Linked DNA regions of Homo sapiens: all the other regions are linked to region 4. The links are contacts of gene promoters, found by promoter capture Hi-C in human tissues and cell types (Jung and others, 2019). All regions are on one chromosome and are shown on one strand. The core of a region is centred on a gene start or on the middle of the fragment in contact, and the rest is flanking DNA. Distances in the headings are between cores, read along the strand shown. Region 1 overlaps PABPC1L (poly(A) binding protein cytoplasmic 1 like). Region 2 overlaps STK4 (serine/threonine kinase 4). Region 3 has its middle 21 kb from the start of WFDC8. Region 4 holds the start of RBPJL (recombination signal binding protein for immunoglobulin kappa J region like). Region 5 overlaps STK4 (serine/threonine kinase 4). Region 6 holds the start of SPINT4 (serine peptidase inhibitor, Kunitz type 4).

The links. The method cuts DNA at HindIII sites, captures the fragments that hold promoters and counts their contacts. A contact is called where the count stands out against the background at its distance.
Region 1: a contact is called between a fragment that was not itself captured here and the fragment with the promoter of RBPJL in region 4, in 1 of the 25 tissues and cell types used here (dorsolateral prefrontal cortex).
Region 2: a contact is called between a fragment that was not itself captured here and the fragment with the promoter of RBPJL in region 4, in 1 of the 25 tissues and cell types used here (dorsolateral prefrontal cortex).
Region 3: a fragment that was not itself captured here is called in contact with the fragment with the promoter of RBPJL in region 4 in 1 of the 25 tissues and cell types used here (dorsolateral prefrontal cortex).
Region 5: a fragment that was not itself captured here is called in contact with the fragment with the promoter of RBPJL in region 4 in 2 of the 25 tissues and cell types used here (dorsolateral prefrontal cortex and mesenchymal stem cells).
Region 6: a contact is called between the fragment with the promoter of SPINT4 here and the fragment with the promoter of RBPJL in region 4, in 1 of the 25 tissues and cell types used here (spleen).

What each region holds. Positions count from the first base shown.
Region 1 is chr20:44,937,761-44,941,559 of GRCh38, reverse strand. It overlaps PABPC1L (poly(A) binding protein cytoplasmic 1 like), which reads right to left. Exons shown (of 15, transcript NM_001372179.1): 13 at 3,369-3,499; 14 at 2,812-2,886; 15 at 2,244-2,434. The coding sequence ends at 2,818. Among named protein-coding and RNA genes, the nearest start is that of TOMM34, 21 kb to the left of the region's middle. The HindIII fragment of the contact is 3,038 bases long and covers 29-3,066 here.
Region 2 is chr20:45,029,522-45,033,056 of GRCh38, reverse strand. All of the region lies in intron 10 of STK4 (serine/threonine kinase 4), which reads right to left. Among named protein-coding and RNA genes, the nearest start is that of STK4, 65 kb to the right of the region's middle. The HindIII fragment of the contact is 5,333 bases long and covers 1-3,535 here.
Region 3 is chr20:45,598,866-45,602,618 of GRCh38, reverse strand. No RefSeq gene overlaps it. Among named protein-coding and RNA genes, the nearest start is that of WFDC8, 21 kb to the right of the region's middle. The HindIII fragment of the contact is 6,478 bases long and covers 1-3,753 here.
Region 4 is chr20:45,304,371-45,308,170 of GRCh38, reverse strand. It overlaps RBPJL (recombination signal binding protein for immunoglobulin kappa J region like), which reads right to left and starts at 1,331. Exons shown (of 12, transcript NM_014276.4): 1 at 1,227-1,331; 2 at 1-28. The coding sequence starts at 1,248. MATN4 (matrilin 4) reads left to right here. Exons shown (of 10, transcript NM_001393530.1): 2 at 2,555-2,661; 3 at 3,374-3,800. The coding sequence starts at 2,589. The HindIII fragment of the contact is 4,763 bases long and covers 154-3,800 here.
Region 5 is chr20:45,047,792-45,051,534 of GRCh38, reverse strand. The region is part of intron 10 of STK4 (serine/threonine kinase 4); the gene reads right to left. Among named protein-coding and RNA genes, the nearest start is that of KCNS1, 51 kb to the left of the region's middle. The HindIII fragment of the contact is 3,661 bases long and covers 57-3,717 here.
Region 6 is chr20:45,720,670-45,724,270 of GRCh38, reverse strand. It overlaps SPINT4 (serine peptidase inhibitor, Kunitz type 4), which reads right to left and starts at 1,924. Exons shown (of 3, transcript NM_178455.3): 1 at 1,789-1,924; 2 at 214-391. The coding sequence starts at 1,903. The HindIII fragment of the contact is 7,531 bases long and covers 1-3,601 here.

The DNA.
Region 1 (3,799 bases), core at 298-2,797, 370 kb after region 4:
TGCTAGGCAGCACTCGGCGTTAAGCACACCACCTCTGAGCTCTCTTAAGGATGAGTCTGTTGTCTGAGCCATCACAGACATCCAGGCTGAAGCAGAGTTAGAGTCAGACAAACCCCATCGGCACAGTCAAGGGACAGTTTCAAAGTGGGGCACCGTACCCCTTTTATTGCCTCATAAGCAGGCAGGACTGATGTGAGGCAGGTTTCGTGACATCCAGTCACAACTGGTTTACATCATTCTGAGCTCTAGAAGGCAAGCAACTTGATTTGCTAGTGAAGACACAGAGGGTGGGGCCGGCACAACCCGAAGAGACTACTCATTTTGTACTTCAAAAATGTCTGAAGAACACAACATAAGCTTCCTCATCCCCATCACTCATCTTTGAAATTTAACATCATTCAGTCTTTTCCAGAGATGCTTTGAGGAATAAAACTTCTGCTTCTCATAGGTTAATGTTTCTAGGAGAGGGACACACAGCTATCAATGTGACTGTCTTAATGGTCATGATGGAATTCTACCCCGACTCCCAGAGAAGGTAAAACACCGTTACGTGGGAATGACAGGGCAGAGAGCAGATCATGCAGGGTCTCCTAGGCTGTGTAAAGTAGTCCTTATTCTAATGATGGGAAGCTACTGCAGGATTTATGCAAGGATGAGACATTAGAGAGGCATTTTGAAAGAAGCCTTAGGACTGCATGGTGGAGGACAGACTGCGGGAGGGCCAGGGTAAATGCAGTTAACTGGCAGAAGGCAGTGAGCGCAGGGGTTGAGCTTAGCTCAAATTAGTGGATTTATTCCACTAGGTAGTGGTAGTGGATTTGGATCTGGTAGGAGGTCATGTTGGTGGATTTTCTCTGGAAGAGGGGAGGAGAGAAAGTGGTGTGGCAGCAGGGCTGGGGAAACCCTCTGATTTTGGCTTTTGCAACAGAATGGTGGGGCCATTTATGGAGACAGAACACTGGAAGAGAGAATCAGAGAATAAGACCGGGCACGGTGGCTCATGCCTGTAAACCCCACCCGAGGCGGGTGGATCACCTGACGTCAGGAGTTCGAGATCAGCCTGACCAATATGGTGAAACCTCATCTCTACTAAAAATACAAAAATTAGCTGGGTGTGGTGGAGTGCACCTGTAGTCCCAGCTACTCTGGAGGCTGAGGCAAAAGAACTGCTTGAACCCAGGAGGTGGAGGTTGCAGTGAGCAGAGGTCACGTCACTGCACTCCAGCCTGGGTGACAGAGCGAGACTCCGTCTCAAAAAAAAAAGAACCAAGGAATGAAAAAGAAAGAAACTTAGTTAAATCATAAGCTTGAATTTAGACATGAGTGTTACCAAGATAACCAGGAGCTGATGGCAGGTAGGCGGTGGAATGTAAGAGAGGTGACTCAGGTGCTCTTAAGAGTTGACTGGGCTGAAGAAAAAAACAGGGAGTCATCCTCGACTGGGTACAAATGGAAGATGCGCTTGTAAATTAGATAGCTCAGGAGAACATGGCATGAGAAACCGAGAGGGCCCAGGACTGAGAGTAAAGAAATGCCAGCAGTCAGGATTTGGGGAGAAGACGATGGAGCTGCACAGGGAACAGATTAAAAGCAGCCAAAGAAGTGGGCAGGACATGGTGAAGACAGGTTGGAGGTCTGTGGAGCGGAGAACAGGAAGAGTGAGTTGCTGAGAGTGGCAGAGCAGCCTTGAGGACTCGGTCAGATTTGTTGCTGGTGAATTTTTAGCAGAACCCAGTCTGCTTGGGTCATAGTAGCCACTTTCACTGGGCCGCTCCGGTACACGAGAGGGCAAAGACCTGGACTGTACGTCCCTGATGGGAGGTGAGCACTAACTGACACAAAGAAGCTTTTCGAGAGACTTCTCCATTAGGGGAGGAAAATCCTGACCTGGGAAGGTACCCTAAAACGTTCCTACAAGGGTTAATTATGTTACACAACCCCTTAGCCAGCCGAGAAGCAGCTGGGTGTTTGCCCTGCAGGGTGCCCAAGCCAGGGGCTGCATGCACATCAGATGGGGGCCCCTGTAGCTCTGGTCCATTGTGTGATATCCATGTCATCATCCACTGTACTGTTGATGGGTCAGTTCCTAACACTTCTCCTGCTCTTGTGTATATGCCCTCTGTGTACTTCAGCACTCCTTTAGGGTTTCTGTTTCTTAGAGCCTGAGCCCCACCCCAGTCATGTCTACCGTTTGCTCTGTCCCCACCTCCCTCAGACACAAAAGGGCCTCCTGGGAGGCAAGGCAGATTTTGCAGCACTTTTAATACACAAAGCAAAAGGTAATAGGCTGGATGGGTGACCAACCTTCATTCACATACAGAGCCCAAGTATAGATACAGACTAATTGGGAAATAAGTTAGAGTTTGCAGGGCCTTAGGGCTGAGAGCCAGAAACACTGTCCTTTTGGCAGCCATGGAAGCGAGGATTTCCTTTTCTGAGGACAAAAAGGTAAAAATAAGTGTTTTTAAAGTATGGCAGACACCCAGTCTTCAATAAAGAAGGTGGTTACATCCTGGCCAGGCCTTCAGGCAGGCAGAATGGAGCCAGGCAGGGCCCTGGGAAAGCCCAAACTATTCTGCATGAAGCCAGGCAGGGCAGCTGGCAAGAGGGCACCTCCTTCACCCTCCACCACCCCCCATTCCGATCACAGTTAATCATCTCCTCTGATTCTCACAACTTCCTCCAAACTCTTTGGTGCTTCAGAGAAAGCCAGGAACACGGCGCAATTCTCAGTGTTTGTGAAAGTCAGTCCCTGCCTATTTCCTTACAGCTTCTCCCGGGCTCAGCTGCTTCTGTCACCATTCCACCCACCTGGTTTCAGTGCATGTACGCCTTCGGCTGCTCCATAGCCTGGTGTGCCTGCAGCACGGCCACTGCCTCGTCTATCTGTGAGACATGAGTGGCGGGGGGGCTTAGTGCAGCTATCTTAGCAGGTCACAGAAGAGCCTTGATCTCCCCCTCGCTCACCATCCTGGATACAGGATCCTCCTCCATCCACAGGGTTTCTGTGGAACCCTCCCATCCACCACTGCTTGCAAGATCCCATGGCCCTGTCTGTCACCTTTGACACAGAGGTACATTGCTGGACAGCTGGAAAAATCTTAACCCTTACACTGAGTCACAACACACTTCCTTGTACCAAAAGACCTACCTACAGAACAACACAGAATTAGTCTACGGAAGGGCTGAAGTAGCAAACCCTTACCTAAGGCCCCTTCCACTCTTAAGATTCAGCAGGCCTTCAGGTATTAGCAAGAAGAAACACTTTATCTGGCCAAACAGCTATCCACTGGCTCCACTAGGAGAGCCCTTGTCGTTAGCTCTCCTCCTGCCCCCTCGGGCTCCCTGCTGCCCAGGCTCCTGCTTACCTTGGCATGGAGGGATTCTGGAGACTCCAGCATGAGCAACAGCTCTGAGTTGTCAATCTCCAGCAGCATGCCCGTGATCTTGCCAGCCAGCTGGGTGTGGACATCATGGATAAGGGGGTAGAGACGCTCCCCTGTGTGGAACACCTTCTAATGGCTTGTGCACGGCCTAGCTCACACCCCAGCATCCCAGGGCTCGTATGGAGTGGAGCACTGAGGACATCTGGGTTCTTCTCCCAGAACTGCTCCTTCTAGGCTATGACATTTAACACTTGATCTTCTAACATCAGGTACTTTTAATGACTGGGCCTGGTATTGGTGGTCAGCCCATCTCAGCAATGTGTCCAGGGCCCAGCCAGGACTGGGTGCCTTAAGTGGGGGCGGAAAGGATCGTCCCATGAAGAAAGTGAAAATGTTTACAGAGAACTACTAAC
Region 2 (3,535 bases), core at 562-3,061, 280 kb after region 4:
GTCAATAAGCATGTGAAAAAAATACTCAACATCACTAACCATTAGAAAAATGCAAATCAAAACCACAATGAGATACTATCTCATACCAGTCAGAATGGCTATTATTAGAAAATCAAAAATAACAGATGCTGGCGAGGTTGCAGAGAAATGGGATTACTTATACACTGCTGGTGGGAATGTAAATTAGTTCAATCATGGTGGAAAGCCATGTGTCGATTTCTCAAAGAACTTAAAAGAGAATTACTGTTCAACCTAGCAGTCCCATTATTGAGTATATACCCAAAGGCACAGAAATTGTTCTACCATAAAGACACATGCATGTGTTGTGTTCGCTGCAGTACTATTCACAATAGCAAAAACATGAAATTAACCTAAATGCCCATCAATGACAGACTGGATAAAGAAAATGTGGTACATGTTGACATGGTATACTACACAGCCACAGAAACGAGCAAGATCACATCCTTTGCAGCAACATGGATGAGCTGGAGGCCATTATCCCAAGCAAACTAACACAAGGACAGAAAACCAAATACAGCATGTTCTCACTTGTAAGTAGGAGCTCAACACTGAGTACACATGGACACAAAGAACAGAACAATAGAAATCAGGGCTTCCTTGAGGGCAGAGGGTGGGAGGAGGGTGAGGATCGAAAAACTACCTATGGGTTACTATGCTTATTACCTGTGTGATGAAATAATCTGTACACCAAACCCCCATGACACACAATTCACCTGTGTAACAAACCTGCACATGTACCCCTGAACCTGAAATAAAGGTAAAAAAAAGAATAAAATAGTTGTTTTACAAATATTCCATGTTTTTAAAGTTTCATATATATTAGAAATTTTGTCTATTTTCTGTTTTATCAGTGTTGTTAATTGCGTTAGTTTTTTGTCTAACTGAAATGTCAATTTTGGAGAGAAGAATATTTAAGTCTTCTTGATTAACTTCTTGAAACTATAATTGCAGTATTCTCATTGCTCCTTCTATTTCTATCAGTTTGGGATAAATATGTATGTTTCATATAGGTGCATGACTTACATCTTCTAGATAAAGTATACCTTTTAACAGTATAAAACATATCCTTCCCAGGTAACATTCTTTTGTCTTAAATTCTATTTCATCTGATTTTTTTTTTTTTTTTTTTTTGAGATGAAGTCTCGCTGTGTCAGCCAGGCTGGAGTGCAGTGGCATGATCTCGGCTCACTGCAACCTCCGCCTCCTGGGTTCAAGCAATTCTTCTGCCTCGGCCCCCTGAGTAGCTGGGACTACAGGTGCATCTGCCACCACGCCCAACTAATTTTTTGTACTTTTAGTAGGGATGGGGTTTCACCATGTTGGCCAGGCTGGTCTCAAACTCCTGACCTCACGTGGTCCGCCTGCCTCGGCCTCCCAAAGTGCTGGGATTACAGGCATGAGCCACCATGCTTGGCCTCATTTGATATCAATATTGTTTCACCCACTTTCTTTTAGTGAGTATTTGCCTAGTGTATCTTTTTCCATTCCTCTGTTTTAAACTTTTCGGTTGTATTTTCTTTCCGTTACATCTCTTATAAACAGCATTTAGCCGGAATTTGACTGTTATTTTTATCCAGACTCTTTCTCTTCTAATAGGAGATTTTAGTGCACTCACATTTACTGTGATTACTGATGCATTTACATTTAAACTGCTATCCCATGTGTCACTCGGCTCCAGCCACAATGGACTCCTTTCCTTCCTTACACATAGTCTATGTCTTGCCTCACAGTCTCTGTACTTATTTCCCCTACCTTCCTGTGACTTGCTTCCCCTCTTCACTGATGTCTCAGCTGAATGTCCTGTCTCTCCACAGGCCTTTTCTCACAATATCTCTTAACTGTGCTTTAAAAAAAAAAAAAATTCGCTATTATTACCTGAACTGATACCTACTAGGGTACTGGCTTAATGTCTATTTCCTTCACTGTAAACTCCATGAGAACATGGGCCTGGTCTGTTTTGTTCACCACTGTTGGCACTTGGGCCATCTTTTTTTTATTTTTGTAATAGAGATGGGGTCTCACTATGTGCCAGGCTGGTCTCGAACTCCTGAGCTCAAGCAAACCTTCCACCTCAGCCTCCCAAAGTGCTGGGATTACAGGTATGAGCCACTGCACCCAGCCTGGGTCATCTTAAACTAAAATATTACAGTGTGTTTTTGGAAGATTCATGAGCCAAATTGGATTTAAGTTTACAGCTGTTTGTGGCTTTATGAATGGCAAAATGGGAAGGTCTGAATTCTCACAAAATATTACATTTTTTTCCAAAAAAGTGATCTGCTAATAGAATATGAAATATCAATTTTAGAGACTATTGCATTTTTAAGCACCTTTTATATTTTAATCACTATGTATCTTAAACACTATTAGAAATTTTTGGAGGGGTTTCTCAACTTGGCAAACAGGCAATTCACTTTTAGAAATGAGACAAATATTCAGTTTCAGATGAAAATATGAAGTTTTGTCAGTACAAAATTCGGCTACTCCTGATTAAATTACTTCCTATTTGCCATTTTGGGCAAAAAGGTCATTGGAAAGCAGCAATTCTCTTCATAGGAGGAAACAGAATTATCTTTTTTCATAATTAAATACTATCTGCCTAGAAATCAGAAAGTCTGTAAGAGATTGTGAAGGAGGCTGGGCCCGGTGGCTCACGCCTGTACTCCCAGCACTTTGGGAGGCCAAAGAGAGTGGATCACAAGGTCAGGTGTTCAAGATCAGCCTGGCCAAGATGGTGAAACCCTGTCTCTACTAAAAATACAAAAATTAGCTGGGTGTGGTGGCAGGCACCTATAATCCCAGATACTCAGGAGGCTGAGGCAGAGAAGTGCTTGAACCCGGGCGGCAGAGGTTGCAGTGAGCTGAGATCATGTCACCACTGCACTCCAGCCTGAGCAACAGAGTGAGACTCCATCTCAAAAAAAAAAAAAAGCAACTGTGAGGGAAACATGTTAGCAAGTCTGACACATATCCTTCGTTAAGCTTTCAGGAGATTATTCAGAACTTTCTTCACTCAAAGGACTAGCTCTTTATTTGCCAGATGTCACTTACAAACATACATTTTCCATATTTTATGTGCTTCTTTGGTACCTCCAGTAAGAGTATAGGAGACTCAAAAGGGGAATAACAAGGAAATTTAAAAATCATACAATGTTAATAAAATAGAAATACATCCTTATCTCTGAATTTCTATAGTACCTAATAGAAAAGAAAACAAGAAATGTATATGAAGATATACTACTGTAAAAACCTTTTAGAACAACTTTAGTGGGTAAGAGTCACCAGGAGGACAGGTTAAAACACCAATCAATGGGTGCTGTCCCCAGATATTCCTATTCAGTCTGCCTGGGGTAAGGCCTGAATAACTGCCTTTCTAACAGTCTCTAGGTGATGCTAACACTGCTGGTCTGGGACCACTTTGAGAACCACTGTTCTAGACTATTATTTCAAATGCTTGCTTTAGGATCAAGGTAAAAGCTATGTAACAAGAATATCAACTATGAAGACAGTTTTCATT
Region 3 (3,753 bases), core at 370-2,869, 290 kb before region 4:
CATAGAGGTTCCAAACAAAATTAAACATAGAACTACCATGTGATTCAGCAGTCCTACTTCTTGATATATATCGATGAGAATTGAAAACAGGATCTTGAAGAGATATTTGCATGCCCATGTTCATTTAAGCATTATGCAGAAACGCCAAGATGTGGAAGCAAACTAAATGTCCATTGATGGATGCATGGATTTTAAAAAATATGGTAAACACACACCCACATACATACACACTAGACTATTATTCAGCTTTCACCAAGATAGAAATAACAGCTCTATCAGGTGACACAACAAGAATGAACCTGGAGGACATTGTGCTAAGTAAAACAAACCAGATGCAGAAAGACAAATGCCGCATGATCTCACTTATTTGTGGGATCTAATATAGTCAAACCCGTTGAAACAGATAGTAGAGTGGTGATAACCAGGAGCTGGAGGGAGGAAGAAGTGGGGAGAAGTTGTCAAAGGGGTACGAAGTTTTAGTTGTGCATAATCAATATTTTTTTGAGATCTGATGAATAGCAATGTGACTATAATTAACAATACTTTATTGTATAGTTGAACTTTGGTAAGATAATGTATCTTAAGCATTCTCACCAAAAAAAAAGGAAAAAAAGCAAGAAAGGAATAAAGGGGAGAAAGAAAATGGTAACTATCTGAGATGATAGACAAATTATTGTGGTGATTATTCCACAGTGTATATGTATATTAAATCATCAAATTGTGTACCTTAAATATATATATTTAAAATATATACATTTAAATATATACATTTTAAAAAGTCAAATGTGCATTTAAAAATACATTTAAAAACTATATGTGAGGCAGAAACTGATGGAACTGCAAGGAGAAATAGATGAATCCATTACTGTAGTTGGAGACTTCAACATGCCTCAGTTATGAATGGGATCCAGCAGGCAGAAAATTAGTAAGGACACAGTTGAACTCAACAGCACCATCAATCAGTCGGATATACAGGCATACCTCGTTTATTGCACCTTGTTTTATTATGCTTCGCAGATATTGCATTTTTTACAAATTGAAGGTTTGTGGCAACCTGCATTGAACAAGTCTACCCGTGCCATTTTGCCAACAGCATGTCCTCACTTCATGTCTCTGTTTCACATTTTGGTAATTCTCACAACAGTTCAAACATATCCATGGTAGTTTTAATAATCTCCCTACAGGGTGAATTCATTTGCAGGCATTGCAAATAAACCCAGGACACAGGTACAATCAGTTGTATACATCATGTCTCATGTCAGAGATGTTTATAATTGTCATTGTTGTGGTCATTTGAGCACTAGCATCCTGCCCTTCTCAGAGCCCAGAAAGTGTGAGACATATTAAAAGTCACACTTGGGACTGCCTTGGACTCTGAGAGTGGAAATACACTTGTCTTTTCTTCAATTATAGCAAATGAGGTGCATCTTATAACCACTTATGCTAATGAGAAACAAACATGGTAAACCCATTCTTTTGTTACCAGAGGAGGAGACCCTAGAGAGAGGTTCTGAACCTGGCTAGGAGCAGTGTGGGGATGAAACATGAGTATGGGCCTGATACTGATGGTAAAAATATGATTAGGAAACCAGATGGGAGATTCCATAATTCCAACTGCTTGCTTAACCTTTGTGAACAGGTTAGCATAGGGTGGGAGCAAGACGGTGGAAGGAGAAGCTTGTCTGTGAATCTGAAAACATATTGCCTACTCCTCTTTGCAGAAGAACACAGAGTGTTTCCCAAGGAAAGTGTGAAACAGCGTGAACCGAGCTCCACTCCTAGGAATATACCAGGGGAAGAGCTGGTATGATGGGCTGGATTTGGCTAAATATAGAAACTTTAGTGTAGCTCAGTATAGTATACAGGTACACAAGTTGAGGGTGTTTAGAAAGGCCAGATTCAGGGGTAGAGAGAGAGGGAGAGGGGGGGATAGAGAGAGAGAGAGAGAGAGAGAGAGAGAGACTGCTTTTACCAGAAGGAAAGCAAAGAGAGAGGCTTGGTGAAAGAAAAGAGAGAGAGGTATAGCAGTCAAAGACAGTGGAATATTTAGGAAAGATAAAGAGATGATTTTTAAGGGAATGTTACCATATGATAGTGATGTAACCTCCTCCTCCTATTTTAATTTTACCATCAGTAAAATTCCCAATATTTATAGAATTGGATTTATGTTTCTTTGTGAGTACAGCGATGTTTAACGGAGGGCCCATAAAAGATATTGATTGTTTGGCACCACTAGGGAATGCCTAGTTGTGTGTAGGTCACACACACATACACAGATACACAGACACACACACAGACACACACAGAGACACACACACCCCATGGAGATGCACTACATGGAGCATATACACCAAAATGATAACATGATAATTTCAGGGTCATTAAATTGCTGGTAATTTTCTATTTGCTTCTTATTGTTTTTCAGTTTTTGAAAAATTTTCTACAATAAATATGGATTGCTTTTGTAATCATAAAAAGAAAATAATGAGGAGTATATGGAGGAATGGGTAGAAAGCTCAGTCTAGTAGACACAAAAGCCCACAATTCTAAGCTTTCTCCACATGTACCTGCAAACCGTTGCCCCTTGGCCAATGCTTGGGTTCAGGTATATGCACACCAATGACAAGGTCCATTTTTTGGAAGATATATCTTAGGAAAAGCCTGCACAGGTCTGGAGATGGGCTTAGAGCCATTTGGAAAGGGTGTTCTTGGGTACTTGCTACCCATGGTAATCTAGAAGCGGCAGTGCAGTCTCCAGGTGAGCATCCTCTTGGTTCCATAAGCTTTTTGCTCTATGGGGAAATGACAGAGCTAGAGGAGGGCCCCTCAAAGAGAGGGCCTTCTTGTTTTGGTCTATGTGTGGCACAGCCTTCTCCATTTTTCCTCCCTTCTTCCTCACTATTCCAAGAGGCACCCATCACTAAGATGCACATATACTTAATATCATAAACCTCTAACTTCTATGACCCCTGGTTTGCTGTGATTCATACTAGATGACCCAAGCCCTGAGACCACATGGGTGGTAAGGATAGGACCTGAAGAGGGGAGAGAAGGTGGTACATTCAATCTGCCTGGTGCTGAACTCACTGCTTTGATGAGTATTGCACCCTTTTCAAGCTTCATCCAAAGACTTCCTTACAGACCACCTTCCAGACCTGTAAGAATTAACTGAGAAATTTCCAGGAACTTTTACTTACATTTCCCCCGCAAAACGAAAGAAAACGTCAGGTCATCTGAAGTTGGGAAGGCTTTGGCACGGTGGACACTGCCACTCAACTGATGTGTCAAGAGTTTGAGAACCACAAGCGGGCAAATCACTTGAGATCAGGAGTTCAAGACCAGCCTGGCCAACATGGTGAAATACCATCTCTACTAAAAATACAAAAATTAGCCAGGCATGGTGGTGCACGCCTGTAATCCCAGCTACTTGGGAGGCTGAGACAGGAGAATTGCTTGAGCCCAGGAGGTAGAGGTTACAGTGAGTCAAGATCGAGCCATTGCACTCCAGCCTGGGCGACAGAGCAAGACTCTGTATAAAAAAAAAAGAATTCGAGAACCAGTTGTATGTAGCTTTGATCACTTCCAAGGGAGAAAAAAAAATTACTTATTTCTTAATGCATTCACTTTGTGCTGAAGAAAAGGGAGAAGATGGTGAAGTCTGGATACTTATGAGCTATGACACTAGTAATAGTGGAAAGGTCAAGAGGTTGGAAAGAAGGTTAAAGAAGGACTCTAGAAGACGACTGGAGTGAG
Region 4 (3,800 bases), core at 82-2,581:
GTCAAAGGATTGGGAGGCACTGAGGGGTCTGCAGGGGAGTAGGCATCAAGCCAGGTCAGGCGAGTGTATTTTAGCAGAGACGCTGCCTAGGGTGCCCTATCTGATTTGCAGTGCCCTTCCCCACTTCTGCAGGGTCCTTTCCAAATCGAGCCCCCACCCTCAAAGCCATCAAAATAGGATCATCCCTTTTCTACTCTCATCCCTCCAGGAACCCCCTGAAATGTCCCTAAGGGACTTTTGAGAATTTATTTACAGGCCTCTCCTCCCTTGCTGCTCCACTCCCTCAACCTCACCTCAGGGCATCTCTGAATCTTTCTTTTTTTAATGCAAGGATTAACTCCTCAGAGGAATCCCAGGTTCTAGTATCAGTCCTGCCACGACATCGCCATGTACCCTTCAGCAAGACACTACCCTCTCTGGACCTAGTTCCTTTCTTTGTAGAATGAGGGGTTTGGAAAGGTGATGAACTTTGAGGCATTTGCTATTTTGACTTTCTAGGATTCCTGGGGTGGAGGCAGGGTGCCAGGTGAGAAGTTGGCTCAGACCAAGAATGGGATGAGGGGAACCTTAACCAAGATTTAGGGGCCCAGAGGCATCTCCGGGTAGGAAAGTATGGGAGGTGGCAGAGGCCCCTTGTGCCTTAGCCCTCATGCTGTCCAGGGATGTTGGCTTTGCCTGTGGCCCAAGCTTGACAAGGGTTCCCCGCCCTCCCACTTCCACCAGCGCTGCCACATCTTGCTTGGTCACCCTCCCACGACGGGCCCTGCCAGAGGATTTATGTTCTTCTACCAGGCCTGGGAGGGGAAAAGGGAGAAGAATCCGGGATGAGAAGGTCGCCTGGAGTGAGAAGCAGGCACTGGCCTCGCTCAGAATAGGCGCATTCACGGAATTGGGGGGCGGGGGCGGAGCTGCTGTTGGGTTAGGGGCAGCTGGCCCTCTCTGCCAAGAAACAGCAACAGAAAAATGGCTAACACAGCTTCAGCATGGGGCGCGGCGGTGGGGTAGGAGCTGGAAGGAAATGAGGTTTAGTGAATTCTAGGCGCCAGGGGGCCTCAAGAGAGAGAAGGGGAACCAGGAGCCCTAGGTTCTAATCCTGCTTTTGCAGTTCGGCGGGCTGCCTCCTTGGGGCTTAGTTTTCCTATTTGTATAGTGGGGAGGGGGTGGGGGGGTGGTCCTTCGTAGTTCTCACGGGGCGTCTCCGGGGCCTCGGGAGGGTAAGCGCTCACCTGCTGCCCCTGCGGGGTCCATGGTGGCTCCACGGGGCCCCAGCCGCTCACCCGCCGCCCTCTGGACGAGTCCAGTGCTGCTGTCGCTGGAACCCTGCACACCCCTGCTCCTCGGCTCTTGCGCGGGTTATATCCTGTCCAGGCCTTATCTCCAAGGCCCCGGGCCCCGGCCCCCTGTTTGCTCGGGGTGGGCGCACCTGCTGGGCAGATGTGGGCTTCCCACGCCCCCTGCCATCTCGGGCGCCCCCTGGCGGTCGCTCCTGAGAGCAGGCGGGAAACAGGCGCCAAGCCGCGCGTTCTCGTGCGCAGTGGGTTTTGGTCCACTCGCTGCCACGCCACCACGCTCAGCCCCGCAACAGGGCGCAGCCCCTCCCTGCCGCCTGCGGTTGGGCAGTGCATGTCTGTGTTTGTGTGTGTGGAGGGGTCTGGGGGGGTTGGCGAGTTGCAAAGACAGCCACACAGAAGCCTGTGTGCGTAGGGGAGTGGGCCGAGGTGGGGAAGGGCTTCTGTCTGCAGAGGTTCGCCTGGCAGGAGGAGAGGCACCAAACGCCCAGGCTGGCTCACAGAAACTAGCAGGCGTGGGATTGTATCCTGCCGCAGCCACTTTTTGGCCGAATGACTTTGGGTACCAGCGCTTAACTTTTCTGAGCCTCAATTTCATTGTCTGTATGATGGGGGACAATCACAGCCTTAGTCTTACAATTGCAGAGAGGATTAAATGCCACAATGCGTGAAGAGCATTTAACACTGTGCCTGACATTTAAGGAAGACCTGTTTTTTTCTGTTTAAATTTTGCATATTTGTATCTATGTATCTATTCTTATTTACCATTCTCTTGTGGGCCGAGCGCGGTGGCTCACGCCTGTAATCCCAGCATTCTGGGAGGCCGAGGTGGGAGGATCACCTGAGGTCAGGAGTTTGAGACCAGCCTGACCAACATGGCAAAACCCGCTCTCTACTAAAAATACAAAAAATTAGCCAGGTGTGGTGGCAGGAGCCTGTAATCCCAGCTACTCGGGAGGCTGAGGCCGGAGAATCGCTTGAACCTGGGAGGCAGAGGTTGCAGTGAGCCGAGATCATGCCACTGCACTCCAGCCGGGACGACAGAGCAAGACTCTATCTAAAAAAAAAAAAAAAAAGAATCTCTTGTGTTTCCCAGCAATCCCACTGTGATGAGAATTTTTTAATTCTGAAACATTTCAAACATACACAAAAATAGAGAGATTAGTAAAATAAACCTGTAACTGTCTTCCCCCTCCAAGTGCCTATCACCCAGAATAAGAGCTCTGTAAATACTGTTGCTTTTCTATTTTCCTTCCTCCCTCCAGGCTCTGACACCTCCATTCTCTGTCCCCAAGCGCCATGAGAGGCCTTCTTTGCTGGCCCGTGTTGCTGCTCCTTCTTCAGCCCTGGGAAACCCAGCTCCAGTTGACAGGTGAACTGGGGCCCAGCCCTCACCAGTGGGAGGAGGGGAGCGGAAGCAGGTCCTCCCTCTGCAGCCAGCTCCTCCTGCTGGGGAGAGGGAAGCAAGGGCTTTGGAACATATGGGACTGGGTTTAAGTTCCCCACTTCACCTTTCTGGGCCTCAGTTTCTTCATCTGTAGGATGTGGCTTAGTTTTGGGCGCATGCAGAACTGCCCATGGGGTGTTTAATTTGGAAAAATTATTTGAAAACATGGAAAAAAACCAGGAAATTTTACATAAAAATCCCTGTTTAGTATTTCTCTTGAAAAACCAGGGATCTGCTGACATCCAATTCGCAGGGGCATGGCCTCATTTGGATGCAGCTACCTGCCCAATTTAGGAGTGATAGGGGCTCTTTGGGTCTCCAGCGTCCTAACCCAACCAGTTCATCCATGTTCCCTGCCTGGTCCCTGCAGGCTTTGAGTTTGCGACGCTTCCTTGCCCCCTCGTCAATGGGTAATACCGCCTCAGAATAGCCCTCAGATCTGTAAGATGAGGGAATTTGTGAAATCTCCTAGCCCAGGTGCTAGGCACATGCCGGGCGAGTGCATCTGTCTAATCTGCGTTTGCTGTGCTGGGCGCTGTTATGTCGGCATAGCGGCATTTCCCCTGGGTTTCCTAGGGGGTCTCCTCGGAGGTGAGGCTTTGCTGACCTAGGAGAGTCCTCCCTGATCTCCCCGCAGGTCCCAGGTGTCACACTGGGCCCCTGGATCTGGTGTTCGTGATTGACAGCTCCCGCAGCGTGCGCCCTTTCGAGTTCGAGACCATGCGGCAGTTCCTCATGGGCCTCCTCCGAGGCCTGAACGTGGGTCCCAACGCCACGCGCGTTGGCGTGATCCAGTATTCGAGTCAAGTGCAGAGCGTCTTCCCTCTCCGCGCGTTCTCTCGCCGCGAGGACATGGAGCGCGCCATCCGCGACCTGGTGCCTCTGGCGCAAGGCACCATGACGGGACTGGCAATCCAGTACGCCATGAACGTGGCCTTCAGTGTGGCCGAGGGCGCGCGACCGCCAGAGGAGCGCGTGCCGCGTGTCGCTGTCATCGTGACAGACGGGCGGCCCCAGGACCGCGTGGCCGAGGTGGCGGCACAGGCGCGCGCCCGCGGCATTGA
Region 5 (3,743 bases), core at 638-3,137, 260 kb after region 4:
GTAATAACTGTCAAAGAAAGACCCCTGGTAACCACTTATTGAACTACCATGAAAAAAGGAACTCACTAAAAGATACAATAACAATGAGCTAGACAGTAAGGATTTGAATTTGTCTCCCAAAAAGCCCCCTAGCAACAAGAGGCCTGGACCATCAAAGGCTAGAGAAAAGAAAGAAACTAAAGAGAAAAATAAAAAGCATTGTACTTGATGCCAAATTATATAAAATACAACCAGCACAGAAGGACCACCTTACTTTTCTTTCAGTCTAGCACTAAAGGCCTTTTGGTTAGAAACAATCAATTTTGCTTGGCAAAAAAAGGATCAAGACATAGAAGTACTTTGGATCAAATTCTGTAGAATCAGCCTATTTGAGATGCATTAAGGTTAATGCCAAAACCAATACGGTGTTCTGTTCACAGTTTCTTTCTAGAGGTTTTAAAAGCCGAAAAACATTAAAACTCAGAGTTTGAAGTGGAAAGTTTCTATCTGTAAAAACAAGCCACTTTTAGGTACTATAAGCTATTAAGATTTGGTAATTCTAAATTAATTATGTATTTTTTAAACCCTTGGTTGTTAGAAAAATATAAAGCTCGATTGCTACCTTACTCTTAACACCAAGACAAATACATGATAGATTAAATATTGAGAAAGAAAAAATAATAAAACATTCTAAAACAAAGTAAGGGTTAATATTTTTGTAATCTTAGAATGTGAAAAACTTTCCCAAAGATGACATAAAATTCCAGAAACCACAAGAAAAAGCTAATAAATCAAAATATATAAAAATTTAAATGTCTGAAGTTAGATACCATATACAAAGCTTTAAAAGATATTCTAGCAGAATATCTTTACCACATATGTTAAAAGGTTCATAACCTGACTTGATAGCTGAAGAAGTCTTTAAAATCAATAAAGAAAATAAGAATTCCATGGAAAATTCAGTAAATAATATAAAGCAACAATTCACATACCAAAAACGATAGGGAAATTTAACAATATGTATCAAAATTTCAAATTTGTGAACAGTTTGACCCAATAATTCTACTGCAGGAATTAATTCTAAGGGCGTACCATGCAAAGATGTTATTAAAGCAATATTTATTAATATTAAAAAGCTGAAGGCTACCTAAATGACCATCAGCTGGAGACTGGTTAAATCAGAGATCACAAACACAAATGTTTTGAGAGACTGGCAAAGACAACAGAAATAAACTCAACAGTCTGCTCATAAAACAAAAACAGGAAGTGATGGGGTCTGTGAAGAGCTGGAGAACTCAGACCCATTTCAGTAGTTCAAAGTATAAAAATTACATGTGCCACAGGCCAAACTGGCTCCCCCTTTCCCAGTCCCCACACACCCCCAGAGTGAGATGTGTAATCTGTAGCCATGGCACGAGCACTGCTGACTGTTCTCTCTGCAGCCAGCCTAGGAAGATCCCCTTACTCTGAATGCTCGTCTGTTCTATCACATTTGAGTAGATACAAAGGAGCTCATTGATGTGGCCAAACGGATTCTCAGGATTAACAAAACCTTAAAGGTCATCTAGTCTAACTTGAAGCTTTCCTTGAGGCTGCAGTCATTCAGACGTTTAGGCCCAGGTGAACAGTGTAGAGAGGGGAGGGGAAGGAAGTGGAAAGTGATGGAGTACAAAGCCAGAAGTCAGGGAATGAGGACTACACTTGGCTTTCCTGTGGGATTTTCATTTTCCACAACAACAAAATTGAGATGGGAGGAGAAGTGGTGAGAATTCTTAAAAAGCTGAAATCCTGTGCATCACATATTTTCTGTATCACTGTACGTAAAACTCCATTAACCGAATACCAGGAACTCAAGCATTATTCTAATATGAAGTGCTGAATTCACAGTACCATTGTTAAACATCCGTTTAGCAATGAACTCTGGGCAGCTGTTACCCTCACTGACCAAGCTGGCAAAGGGAAGAGTTCCACAGATAATGTGACAGATTGTATATGGTATTTTTACTGCAAGATCTTAATTCATCCCAGGAACTGTTTTAAAAGAATAGTTGTAGTTTATAATTGCAGTCTCAGCAGCACTTCCAAAAGTGGAAAACCTCCACTTGAAATTGGAATGGAACATTTCTTCCCAATGTGTGAAAATAACTTTATGCTTGGTCCTGCATATCTAGGAATAAGAGCACTTGGGAGGGGGTAGAAAATTTCCTGACTTTACCTCATTTTTAATAGCACTACATTAAGATTTATTAAACTAGATGCATCCATGTCTAAAGAACAGTTTTTGCTGTGTATTTTCTCCTAAGTAAAGGGCAAATGGAAGTGACTAGTGGGTCTATAAAGTAGATTCAAGTTTGCTCTCCCTCCAGCTGCTGGCCACCCTCTGATCCAATGCTCTGCAATGTGAACTCTGCTTGATGAAAGGGTACCCTCGGCAGCTGATGGATCCCATACAGCTCTCTCTGTCTCTCTCTGTCTCTTTCATACATACGCACATACATTTACTTGAGCTATTTTACATTAACAAATGTACCATCAGGAAAAAACTGTTTTGAAAAAAAAAACATCAATGTGGGAACTGTCCAGGACCTATAGCCTCCAGGCAGGCACAGAAGGGAAGCAATCAGAGAAAACACAAAAGGTCTATCAGTGTTTTAGTGAGTATCCTTGATATTTAAACCCTAGGAACAAGAAAGTCATAACAGAATTAAGCTCACCCTAGGAACAAGAAAGTCATAACAGAATTAAGCTCATCTTAGGTATAAAATAAATATCATGGCTGGGCATGGTGGCTCACGCCTGTAATTCCAGCACTTTGGGAGGCCGAGGCGGATGGATCACCTGAGGTCAGGAGTTCGAGGCCAGCCTGGCCAACATGGTGAAACCCCGTCTCTACTAAAAATACAAAAATTAGCCGGGCATGGTGGCGGGAGGCTGAGGCAGGAGAACCACCTGAACGCAGGAGGCAGAGGTTGCAGTGAGCCAAGACCACGCCACTGCACTCCAGCCTGGGCAACAGAGCAACACTCCGTCTCAAAAAAAAAAAATCACAAAGCAAACAATGTGTGAACTAGCAGGGCCTGCAACAAAAGTGTGAAATAAGTGTAGGTCTTCCTCTTACCTTCCTTTTTTAGGGCAGCCCACCTCAGTATCTTTCCCTTTTCCAGTAGTTCATCCATGTCTCCCACCCTAAGTGTTACACATGTAAATAAAATTTACTGAATGCCTACTCTGTGTCAGATACTCTGCTAAGCACTTTAAAAGCATTTTTAAATTAATCTTCTCAATAACTCAGAAGTAAATATGATTAGTATCTTCATTTTAGGTTGGGTGAGAAGCCTAGAGTTACTGGTCCCATAAATAATGAAACCAGCAATGGATCCAAGTCTATCTGCTCTTGGTCAGTATATCAGACTGCCTTCTATGCTCATGTTGGCGTCCTGGGTGTCCTAAGCATTTCTCTGCTTTTAAAAGAACAGGAAAAGAACCTTATATATACTGAGCATCTTTTACACACTTTACACAAGCTCTTTATTTTAGGCTCACATGATCCCTATGAGAGAGACGCATTAGCTGCATTTTTTAAATTGGCAAACAAAGACCAAGAGAGTTTGAGGGCTCTTGAAGGCTTAATCTTACCTTTAGCAGACAAAGAAACAGAGTCCCAGAAAGGTTAGGTGGCTTACTTAAGGACACAAAGCTAGTTACAGTCAGAGCTGAGACCTGATTCCCAACCCACTGCTCTTCTTCACTATAAATAAGCCATC
Region 6 (3,601 bases), core at 675-3,174, 420 kb before region 4:
GTGATACACCCACCTCAGCCTCCCAAAGTGCTGGGGTTACAGGCATGAGCCACTGCGCCCGGCCAACCCAACTGTTAAAACTTCTTATTTGAGCAATCCTCCCTCTTCCCACTCCAAGCAAGGTTAGCCCCTGATCAATTTTCTCTATCTTAGGATGTCAAAACCTCTTCTTTTACTACCCCCAAGGACCAAGGACAGGATTAGATTCCTTACGGTGGTTTGTATTTTGCAACACAGGCTACTTCACGTTCTATTTTAAGCTTGAAGTTGTTAAGGTTGCCATTACAGCCGGAGAAGACAAAAGTTTCACATCTTTTGGAGGTTCTGTTGTAGAAATATCTAAAGTGAACTTCATAGCAGCTTCCAAAATTCATGTCCAATTTGCAGGGATCTGCATGAGAGGTTCCCATTGAGTTAGTGGGAATTGGTAAGGACTCAGCAGGAGAACTTGTCTTTATGGGCCCTTAAAAATTCCTACGTTTAGCCTGGAACTATTCTCATATTCAAGGACTCTGAAAGATGTGGTTTTCTCTTGGAGTTAGAGTTGCTTGGAAATGTTGCCCTTGCACAATGCAAATTGGTTAAAATTCCAGGTTGTTGTCGTGAGCAGTGTATTGGAGAAGGAGAAGTAGTGATCAGTGAAAAAGGAGGTTCCACCACTAGCTTGTGCAGGGCGATGAGCTTCCCTACATTTCCTATCTTACAGTTTATTAAAGTACAGTATCCTCCTGCTTCCCCACATCATCTTCCTTTCCTTTTAATTGCCCACATAGGACATGCAATTCAGAGTGCCTCCTCCCCAGTTTCATACATTCACTATACTACCTATACTTCAAAATTTAAGTAACCATGGCTGCTGCTATCTTTAAAGCAGGATGCATACTAAAATGCTAAAATGCATAACCTTGGGGTGATGCTCGTTCATCCTCATACCCCGTCATCTTCTCCTTTCTTGCCTTCTCAGAGGCAAACCCTCTGTTTTTATTGTTAAGAGTTGGGTAGTAAGTGGTTGGAACAGCCACAATCATGGTTGTATTGACAATCCACCTTACTCAAGCAGCCAGCCTGGAATTTACTCTCTGGTAAAGTTATGTGCATAATCTTATTTCATACTCACAAACACCCTCTGCAGCAGGCACTTTTCTGATCTTCATTTTACACATGGGGAAACTGAGACTAAGAGAATAATAAGTGGTTGAGTGACTTGTCCAAGGGCACATATCTGCTAAGTGAACAGGTCCAGAACTTGAAGTGTCTGACTTACGGTATAAACTGTGCTACTTTCTCGTCCCCTGGAAGCGCTGAGCCTTCACACACTATCTATGGAAGAAAGTCTCATTGCCTCTCACATTTACATTGTGAGCTCCTCTAAACAGGAATCATCTGTCCAAGAGTTCTGTATATGTCCATAGCCCAGATACTGAAAATGTCTTAATTTGCTCTGTCTCCAACCCCCTTTCTCTCTCATCCCAATACATAATCATCAATGGTCTGGGATCTTTGAAATTTGTCACACAACCTCTGATTCAAAATACTTCCAGTCCTTTGGACCTCCTATAAAAGAGGTCTCCATCTGGAAAGGACTTTGTGTCATTTCTGTTTTTTCTCATCAAACATCCAGAGGACCCCTAGTGTAAGTAATGCCCTGAGTCAAGGGACTAAGTGTCTATGGGTATTGTCATGAAAGGAAGACCTTCCTGGACTACCTAGATAACACACTTTTCTCCCAATACCTTCTCTCTCATTCATAATTGACCTTTGGATTTATTTTCTGCCTTAGCTTCATACCTTTGAGGTCTCCACATATCTTCTCCGCAATTTTATTAACACCACCCAATAACAGGGTATTCAATGAGCAGAAGATGAAGAATCTTAGAAGAAATCCCAGCTTGGCAGACTTCATGGTGCAGCAAGCAGCAGGCAGGATAGTTGTGGTATCACCTGATGTTATATTTTGGGCTTGATACTTGAGACGGTTGAGCTCACCTACCCCAAGGGCCAGGACTGGACATTACTAGGTGTTGAGTTGAACAGTGAGTGCTTGGGTACCCAGCCATGAAGCTGAAGGCCCCAAACTGATTAGACCCTTGATAGTGAGTCCCATGTTCATCTAGAAGCAATAGAAACTTAAGGATCAGAGCTTCTGCATATATTTAATCATGAAGGGTAGAATCATCAGAGTGAGGAATTAAAAAGGGATTTCTTCCTTTCTCTTTTTGACCTTTTATGCACAGAAGAAACTAATCATGGCACAAGAGAAAGAGTGCAATAGCACTATAATAATAGTAACAGGGTTAGTTATAACCTAGAGTACTACTTAATTCCAGGTGCTATTTTTAAGTAATTTGTATATACTTTATCATCATATACACCCTATGAAGTAAGTACAGTTATTACCATCATTTAAGGATGAAATGGAGACAGAGATTAGGTTACATGTACAAGGTCACTCATTTATTATGTGGTAGAGACAAGATTTGAACTTGGCTTCAGAGTTTTTGTTCTTAGTCACACTACACTATGTTATCTAGGAACATGAGGACATCTTGGATCTGTTTTCTCCTAAAAGTTTTGAAGTTTTGGCTTACCTTTACACCCTAAAACCACCTGATGTTGATTTTTTGGTAAGGTATAACATAAGGATCCTTTTTCATTTTTCAGTGGTTCCAGACCTATTTATTAATGAGTTCCTCTTCTATTTAACTGCAAAATAATTTTGCTTAATTATGTGGGATTGCTTCTGAGCCCTTTATTTCACTCCACTGTATACCCCCACTCCAAAGCCACACTTAATCTCTTGAACTTTGTTTATCTTAGGATTTTGTATTTTCATATAAATTTTAGTCAGTTTATCAAGTTATTCAAAAGACCTGTTTCGGGCCAGGCGTGGTGGCTCATGCCTGTAATCCCAGCACTTTGGGAGGCTGAGGTGGGTGAATCCCATGAGGTCAGGAGTTGGAGACCAGCCTGGTCAACATGGCAAAACCCCGTCTCTACTAAAAATACAAAAATTAGCTGGTTATGGTGGTGAGTTCCTGTAATCTCAGCTACTTGGGAGGCTGCGGCATGAGAATTGCTTGAACTGGGAGGCAGAGGTTGTAGTGAGCTGAGACTGTGCCATTGCACTCCAGCCTGGGTGACAGAGCAAGACTCTGACCGAAAACGAAAACAAAAACAAAAACAAAAACAAAACACCTATTTTGGATATTCATTTGAATTGCACTGGATCTACAAATCAATTGGAAAAGAATGATATCCTTATAATATTGTCTTTGATATATATATTTCCATCTATTTTGACCTTCATTAATATTTTAAAGAAAGGTTTATGACATTTCTCATGCAGGTGTTACAATCTTATTTATATTTTTAATATTATTGTAAATGCTATCTTTTAAAAAAATCTTCAACTTTTATTTTAATTTCAGCGGTACATGTGCAGGATGTGCAGGTTTGTTACATACATAAACCATGTGTGCCATGGTGATTTGCTGCACAGATCATCCCTACACCTAGGTATTAAGCCCAGCATTCACCAGGTATTCTTCTTGATGTTCTCCCTCTCCCTACCACCCCCATGATATGCTCCAGTGTGTGTTGT